Regions from separate parts of the Homo sapiens genome. Here region 2 is linked to region 1. The links are contacts of gene promoters, found by promoter capture Hi-C in blood cells and fetal thymus (Javierre and others, 2016). All regions are on one chromosome and are shown on one strand. The core of a region is centred on a gene start or on the middle of the fragment in contact, and the rest is flanking DNA. Distances in the headings are between cores, read along the strand shown.

Region 1 (3,565 bases), core at 133-2,632:
CAAAGTGTTTTTCTGCTTTGAAAAAAAAAAATTCCACAAGCTTTTAAAGGTGCATTTAAGAATCCATGTGACTTTAGAATGGAACTGCCGGCCCTGGCAACTGTCACGTGTGCTAGAAGGTTCGATGCCTCTGGAATGCATGTGATACTCATCTCCATTTTGTTTCCTTGATTGCATTTTTGTTCTTTTAGCAGATCTGTCCCTGTGGGTGGTGTCTAAGAAGTCGGACACCTTGGTTTTTGTGTTAGATTGAGCTGGGCAGCTGCAATCAGCTTCTTTATATGCAAATTAGGCACGACCCATCTGTGGTTCCTGGTTGGTGGCTAATGAAGTGAGGGGAGGGAGGGATGTCACCCCAAAAGTAGGCCCTCCCATTGGCTTTGGCCAGGCCAGACACTTCACATCGTTTACATGGTTCTGTGTAATTTTAAAGTTTATGTGTATAAAGCGAAGCTGTTTCTGTGAAACTGTATATTTTGTAAATAAATATATTGCTACTTTGAGGTTCATGATTCAAGGTTCAGGCGATTGCGTTCTGTGCTGAAGGACAATTGTGTTTCTTTTCTCCTTGCTACCTCCCCAAAGCATGATTACATCAAGTCTCTGGGAAGGCAGCGTCTCAGTGTGCACTTAGCAGGATGGAAAATGCCCACGGTGTTAAGGTACCTTGCTGGTGAATTCCTTAGAAACAAACCACAGGACGAGTAGATGTGAATGGTTTTTGCAGTTTCTTCATCAGATTGAGGATTAGCTCAAGCCCCAGTGAGTGGTTAGCCTACTTTTGATTTTTTTTTTGTTTTTGAGACTTGAGTTTCGTTCTTGTCACCTAGGCTGTGAAGTGCTGTGATGAGATTTTGGCTCATTGTAACTTCCACCTCCCGGGTTCAAGAGATTCTCCTGCTTCAGCCTTCCGAGTAGCTGGAATTACAGGTGCCCGCCACCATGTGCGGCTAATTTTTGTATTTTTAGTAGAGATGGGGTTTCACCATGTCGGTCAGGCTGGCCTTGAACTCCTGATCTCAGGTGATCCGCCTGCCTCGGCCTCCCAAAGTGCTGGGATTACAGGCGTGAGCCACTGCGCCTGGCCGATTTTTTTTTTTTTCTTCTTACAAGATGACGCCTTCCCTATAGGCTGCTTTGAGAAAGCTGCAGCCTCGGAGTTTCTGCAAGGCCTGAACTGGAATCTCCCTCCCCTTCAGTTGCCCTTTTTGCCTCTTCACGTTTGGGGGTTCCCTGTGACCAAACTTAAGGGCAGTGAGCTGTCTGGCCTCTGAACTGACACCACCAGTGGCCAACTAGTACCACCTCCAGTGACGTCAGAGGAGTCCAGACCTATTCACAATTCAAAGCCCTAAAAACACTGAGGGGTTGGCCGTTGGTTTCCAGTTGTCCAAGCCTGTGAGTGGCTATGCGTCCTGGTTGGGTGCTCAAAGCAAGGAGGTGAAAGGCGACCAGCATTGGCGAATGGGGTAAGACTTGCACAGGCCCAAGGCTAGGAGTTGGGGTTTCGGGCCTGAATTGGGGCCCGGAGCACCCCTTTACGTGGCGCCCCGGGTCCCGTCCGACCCTGGGGAGACGCGGGTGGCTGGGATGGCAGGATGAGCGCGCCCTGGAGGCGAGCCAGGCCCGTCACCACCTCCCAGCGGCCCCGCCCCTCCCCGCAGGTCCCTCCCCTCTCCGCAGGCCCCGCCGCCGCCGCCATCTTTGTTGGGGGCAGCCAGGCCTGGCTCGAGATGCCGAAGTCGTGCGCGGCCCGGCAGTGCTGCAACCGCTACAGCAGCCGCAGGAAGCAGCTCACCTTCCACCGGTAAGAGGCGGGGACCCGGGGGCGCGGGAGGCCCAGACCCGGGGCCCGCGGACCGACTCCGAGGCCTTGGCGCGCCGGGCGGGAGGCCCAAAGGCGTGCGGCCGCTGGGCCCGGGGACAGGCCGAGGTCCTGGGCCCAGAGGGGCTGGCGCCGCCGCGCCCGCCGCGGGGATGCGGGGAGTGGCGGACGGAGGGGCAGCGGCGCACCTGGCGGGGCCAGGGCCGGGACGTGCAGGGAGCGGAGCAGGTGTTTGCTGAACAGACTAGCGGGCCGCGGCCGGGGTTTGCTGTGTCCCTGGTCGCTGCAGCCCCCGCCGCGCGCGGTCCTGAAGGGAGCCCGGCACCTGGGCAGTGCAGTGGAGGAGTGGAACCCCCAGGGGCGTCCTGGCAGTGGGAAGGGACTCTGCAGGGTCGCGGGAGGACGCTGGAGACTTTGGAGTCTGCTCCAGCACTCGCCCGGCCCGGCCCGGCCCGGCCCAGGAGCAATCGTCATTAGTCACAGTTGCGCTTTCTCCAAGGTCCAGTCACGGCACCATTTCTCTACCCACTTTTGGGCACATTCCGAAGGGGGGCTTGTGCTCATCGTTCCCATTCCCTCTGCTCCCATTGTTCTGTTTTGTGATAAATGCTTTGCTTGAAGTATACGTAATGTACATGCAGAAAAATGCACGAATCATAAGTATACAGCCCAGCGAGTTTTCCCCAAGTGAACGTCACTGAACTGAAACGTTACCAGCTGGGCGCGGTGGCTCAAGCCTGTCATCCCAGCACTTTGGGAGGCCGAGGCGGGAGGATCGCTTGAGCCTGGGAGTTCGAGACCTGCCTGGGCAACAGAAGGAGACCCTACCTCTACAAATAATTTAAAAAAATTAGCCAGGCAAGGTGGTGTGCCCCTGTAGTCCCAGCTGCTCGGGAGACTGAAGTAGGAGGATCGCTTGAACCCAGCTTCGAGGCTGCAGTGAGCTATAATCTTGCCACTGCACTCCAGCCTGGGTGACAGAGCGATACCTCATCTCAAAATAAGAAATAAAACATCACTACCCCCGAGAAGAACCCCTACCTGGACCCCCTCCCAGGCCCTCCTCCTCTCTCCTGCCCAAAGGGAACCCTATCCTGCCCGCTATCAGAGTGGATTGCAGTTCATTCGCTTTCGTTGCCACATAATATTCCATTGAATGCAAGTGCCAGAATTTACTGATTTGTTCTACAATTGAAGGGCATTTGGGTGGCCCCATTTTTTGGATGACAAATACATGGTTCTGGAGGCTGGGCGTGGTGGCTCACGCCTGTAATCCCAGCACTTTGGGAGGCCGAGCTGGGTGGATCACCTGAGGTCAGGAGTTGGAGACCAGCCTGACCAACATGGTGAAACCCCGTCTCTACTTCTCTACTACAAATACAAAAATTACCCGGGCGTGGTAGCGCGCACCTGAAATCCCAGCTACTCAGGAGGCTAAGGCAGGAGAATCACTTGACCCTGGGAGGCAGAGCTTGCAGTGAACCGAGATCGCACCACTACACTCCATCTTGGGCAACAGAGCGAGACTCCGTCTCAAAAAACAAAACAAAACAAACATTGTTTTGGCCAGTTTTGGTGGGACTTGTGTTGCAGTGCATCTATCTGTTTTGCCTCTGTCAGGTATGTACTTGGGGATGGAGTTGCTGCGCCTTCTCTCTTGAAGTCGTTTCCTCCACTCCCACGAGAGCTCTGTCACATCACTAGTGAGCCTTGTGACACTGATCGATTGCATAGCATTTC
Region 2 (3,667 bases), core at 795-3,294, 640 kb before region 1:
GTGATACACCAGGTGCCTGGGGATGCCATGGGATGATTCACTTTTCCTCTGCATCCTTGTCAACTTTGAACTACGTGCATTACCTTTTCACAAATAAAAATAAAATGAAATGGGGAAATAAAATTTCCTTTGCAAAACTCCTAGGAAAGAGGGAAGGGCTATCAACTATCCTGTGAGCTTCTGGAAGGCGGCTGAGCCAGACCAGGAGGGTGGCATCCCAGCTAAAGCCGTCGCCCTGGGCAGCTGGCTTCACTCTTAATTAGCAGGTGCTGCTGCTCGTCTATAAAACGGGAGTAAGGTGGTGGCAGCCTCATAGAGCTGCTCTGAGGATTAAGTGAATGAACACAGTGAAGTGCTAGAAGTAAAGCTACAAAAGCAGCAGCCACCACAGTACCTACCACAGTGGCAAAGACACAGCAGGTGCTCAATCCAAGGGCTTGGAATTGAACGATATAGAACATCAGTGATTTAATAATAGTAAATTAGTCACAGACCCGGGGCTCCAACAACTGAATATATGTGAATATCACTCTCCCAGCTGCAGAGGAAAACGGCCTTGCCAAGCCAAATCCTGTAAAAAGGGTTGACAATGGCAAGACTGATCCTTCTCACGCATTCCCACCGGCCACTGGGCCTCACGAGGACAATCCAATCGTGTGGGTGTCCCGTGGGCAGCAGCACAGAAGCACCAGCTTGTCCAGCAGGTTCCCCGCCAGCTGAAGGGCACAGATGGATGTGCCGCCATCAGGGCCTGGGCCTGAGTGTGCCCAAGGCCGTGGTACATCCAGCCACGCACAGAGCTGCCAGAATGCCCGTAGCTCAGCCCCTGCAGTCCTCACTGCCAGGCTGAAAGCGGGCCATGCTGAGCCATGCACAAGGCCACCTGGCTCACAAATAACCCAGGAAATCAGAGTACTTGGGTTTTTAAATTGCTCCACTGTGGGCAGAAAGAAACCCTACCCAGAGTCAAAAGTGCTGACCATGTCATTGAATCATAGATTCTCTTTGCTGATGGGCCACTTTGCATCCGAATACTGCCAAGGCCCAAGGTAATGGGTATGGTGGTATAAGACTCAAACGAGTAAGTGAAAATCAATACAGATGCTCTTTGACCTATGATGGGACTCTATCCTGTTTAAGTTGAAAATGTCATAAGTTCAAATGCATTTAATACCCTTAACCTACTGTACATCAGAGCTTAGCGTGGCCCAGCTTCAACATGGTCAGAACACTTGCATGTTCCTACAACTGGGCAAAGTCATCTAACACAAATCCTATTTTTAAATAAAATGTTGGGTATCTCCTGTAATATATTGAAAACAGCACTGAAAGTGAAAAACAGAATGGCTATATGGGTACCACCATAAAGTAGCAAAATCAAAAATCAAAGCATCGTAAGCCAGGGACCATCCATCTGTTAACTGGAAGCCTCATGTCAGCTAAGAGCAATAACACGCATTTGCTAACAGCACATTTTGTTACCTGCCTAATTACCGGTCCGTCCAGCCACTTGAGGACACACTGGAATGCCGTGGATTCCTTCCAAGGCTGGCGCGCTCTCTGTGGGTGGGGAGGGACAAGCACGTTTTGGGTGAAGATCCTGTGCCAGTCGTTCATCCTGCCCGCCTGAGGGTCCCGTGGGCTTCCCGGATGATCTGTGCCAGTCGTATTCAAATAAAGAGAAGAGCTGTGAGGGCTACAGTGGTCACAGCAATCCTGAAGGCTTCTGCCTCCCACTAAATCCCAGAGGAACCTCCATCCCCCAAACCCACACTCTGCAAACCCCAGAAGAGTGGACTTTGTTGCTGGCTGGCACCCATGCTGCCTCCTCTAGGAAGTACCATTTGCATTTCAAAAAGGAAAAATAAACGTAGATATATTTATTTGTATTTGCTTAGAATTTATGAAAGCTGTACAATAACACACTGTATCTAGGGTGATACACCAGGTACCTGGGGTCAACATGGGATGATTCACTTTTCCTGTGTATCCTTGTCAACTTTGAACTATGCGAATTACCTTTTCAGAAATAAAAATAAAATGGAGAAATAAAATCTACCTCCAGAGAACCCTCCGCCCCACCCCTACCCCCGTGGGCCAGACTCAGGGCACGACTCTCCTGACCTCTGTGGCTGGTTCCGGATGGGGACATGAAGGGATGTTTTATTCAGCTGTGTAAGTTGGATACCACACAAGGACACCAGGGGTGGGTGGCTGCTGAAATACAGTCCTAGCGTTAAGACTGTCTTGTAGGGGACCCAGGGAGCATGAGAGAGGGAATACAGCCCTTGGGCCAAGAGGTGGTCAGCCTGAAACTGCCCGGGGCCACCTTAGGACACACATAAAAACAAGCAGAGAGGAAAAGGTAGGAGTGAGGGCCACTGGGTCCCCATGTCATTATTAGAGACCTCAGTTGGTCACCCCACGACACTTCAGCTACATGAACAAAGTCTCTTGTTGCTAAAGCCATTTGGGGACAGGTTTCAGGTGTTACCAGCTTCTTGGTGGGTCTTGGCCCGTTTTGAGTGTTATCTGATCCTGTCCAGCCAGACCGGGATCTAAATCTTCTCTAGCCAACACAGAATCCAAAGATCTGAACCTCAAGAAGAGGTTGAATTCCGTAAACTAAAATGGCGAGTAAGGAGAAAAAGAAGTGGGTTTGGCCTTCTAAGACAGCAGCTCTCTAAGTACATTCCCCAAACCCAAGGTTCAACAGGATCCTGTCAGGGGCTCTACAAGGTCAAAACTATTTTCATGACACCCAGGTGTTATCTCTTTCACCATGGTGGCATGGTGGGGCAGAGGCAGCAGCAGGGAAAGCCACTGGGGCCTCACTCAACCCAAGGCTGGTTGGGTTGAGTGAGGTCCTCCCAACCTCTCACAGAAAAGAACAAGGCAGCTTCAAGTAAGAACATCCTTGGTGAAGCCGGAAAAACTATTAATCTTATTACTTCTTGACCTTTGAGTACACACGTTCTTAATTTTGTGAGACGAAATGGAAAATACACAACAAGCATTTCTGCTGCAAACTGAAAGGCAACAGTCATCCCCGGGGAAGCCTGGCTGTGACTGGGCTGCATGCTGAACACACCGCTTTTATTATTCAACACCATTTTCACTAAGAAGAATGACTGAGAGACAAACATGGGTACTTGGCAGACATCTTCTCAAACGTGAACAAAGTTAGCATGTCACTTCCGGGAAAACAACTGCAACAAAAATGGAGTTTCCAAGCAAAAATGAGAATTAAGAACATTTGTATCCTCTACCATGAGCCTACTAGCTTCACACTTCTTCAAGACTTTCCTGATGAGAGGGGCAGTGATATAACGTGATCTTCTAAGGTTACACCATTAAATGTGTCAATAGTTGGAAGGTCTGCATGACTCCGTGAACCAATATTTTCTGAACAATGCGTAATGGTACAAAATCCTGCAAGAAGAAAACATCCACCCAAAGTGCAAGACAGACCAAAGGAGTTTAATGTCAGAGCACGAAGAGTTCATTCACATGGTGGAGACTCTGCTTTAGAACAAATCCTTAAGAAACTTCTGCTCGTAGGGTTTCAATGCAGCAGCAAAGAATATCCACAATGACCCAAGAGACTCCTCCCTAACTAGATCGGGATGGATTTCCTTCACATACTTCAACCAAGGCAACACAAGGC

What was found. Contacts are between HindIII fragments. The CHiCAGO score rates a contact against its expected background, and 5 or more counts as called.
Region 2: a fragment that was not itself captured here is called in contact with the fragment with the promoter of THAP3 in region 1 in 4 of 17 cell types (neutrophils, total B cells, naive CD4 T cells and 1 more); the score reaches 7.0 in neutrophils.

Annotation. Positions count from the first base shown.
Region 1 is chr1:6,623,486-6,627,050 of GRCh38, forward strand. It overlaps THAP3 (THAP domain containing 3), which reads left to right and starts at 1,383. Exons shown (of 6, transcript NM_001195753.2): 1 at 1,383-1,469; 2 at 1,665-1,807. The coding sequence starts at 1,734. It overlaps PHF13 (PHD finger protein 13), which reads left to right. Exons shown (of 4, transcript NM_153812.3): 4 at 1-545. RefSeq lists a silencer at 1,774-2,183. The HindIII fragment of the contact is 4,820 bases long and covers 39-3,565 here.
Region 2 is chr1:5,984,673-5,988,339 of GRCh38, forward strand. It overlaps NPHP4 (nephrocystin 4), which reads right to left. Exons shown (of 30, transcript NM_015102.5): 2 at 1,483-1,655. The coding sequence starts at 1,617. Among named protein-coding and RNA genes, the nearest start is that of NPHP4, 5.9 kb to the right of the region's middle. The HindIII fragment of the contact is 5,741 bases long and covers 1-3,667 here.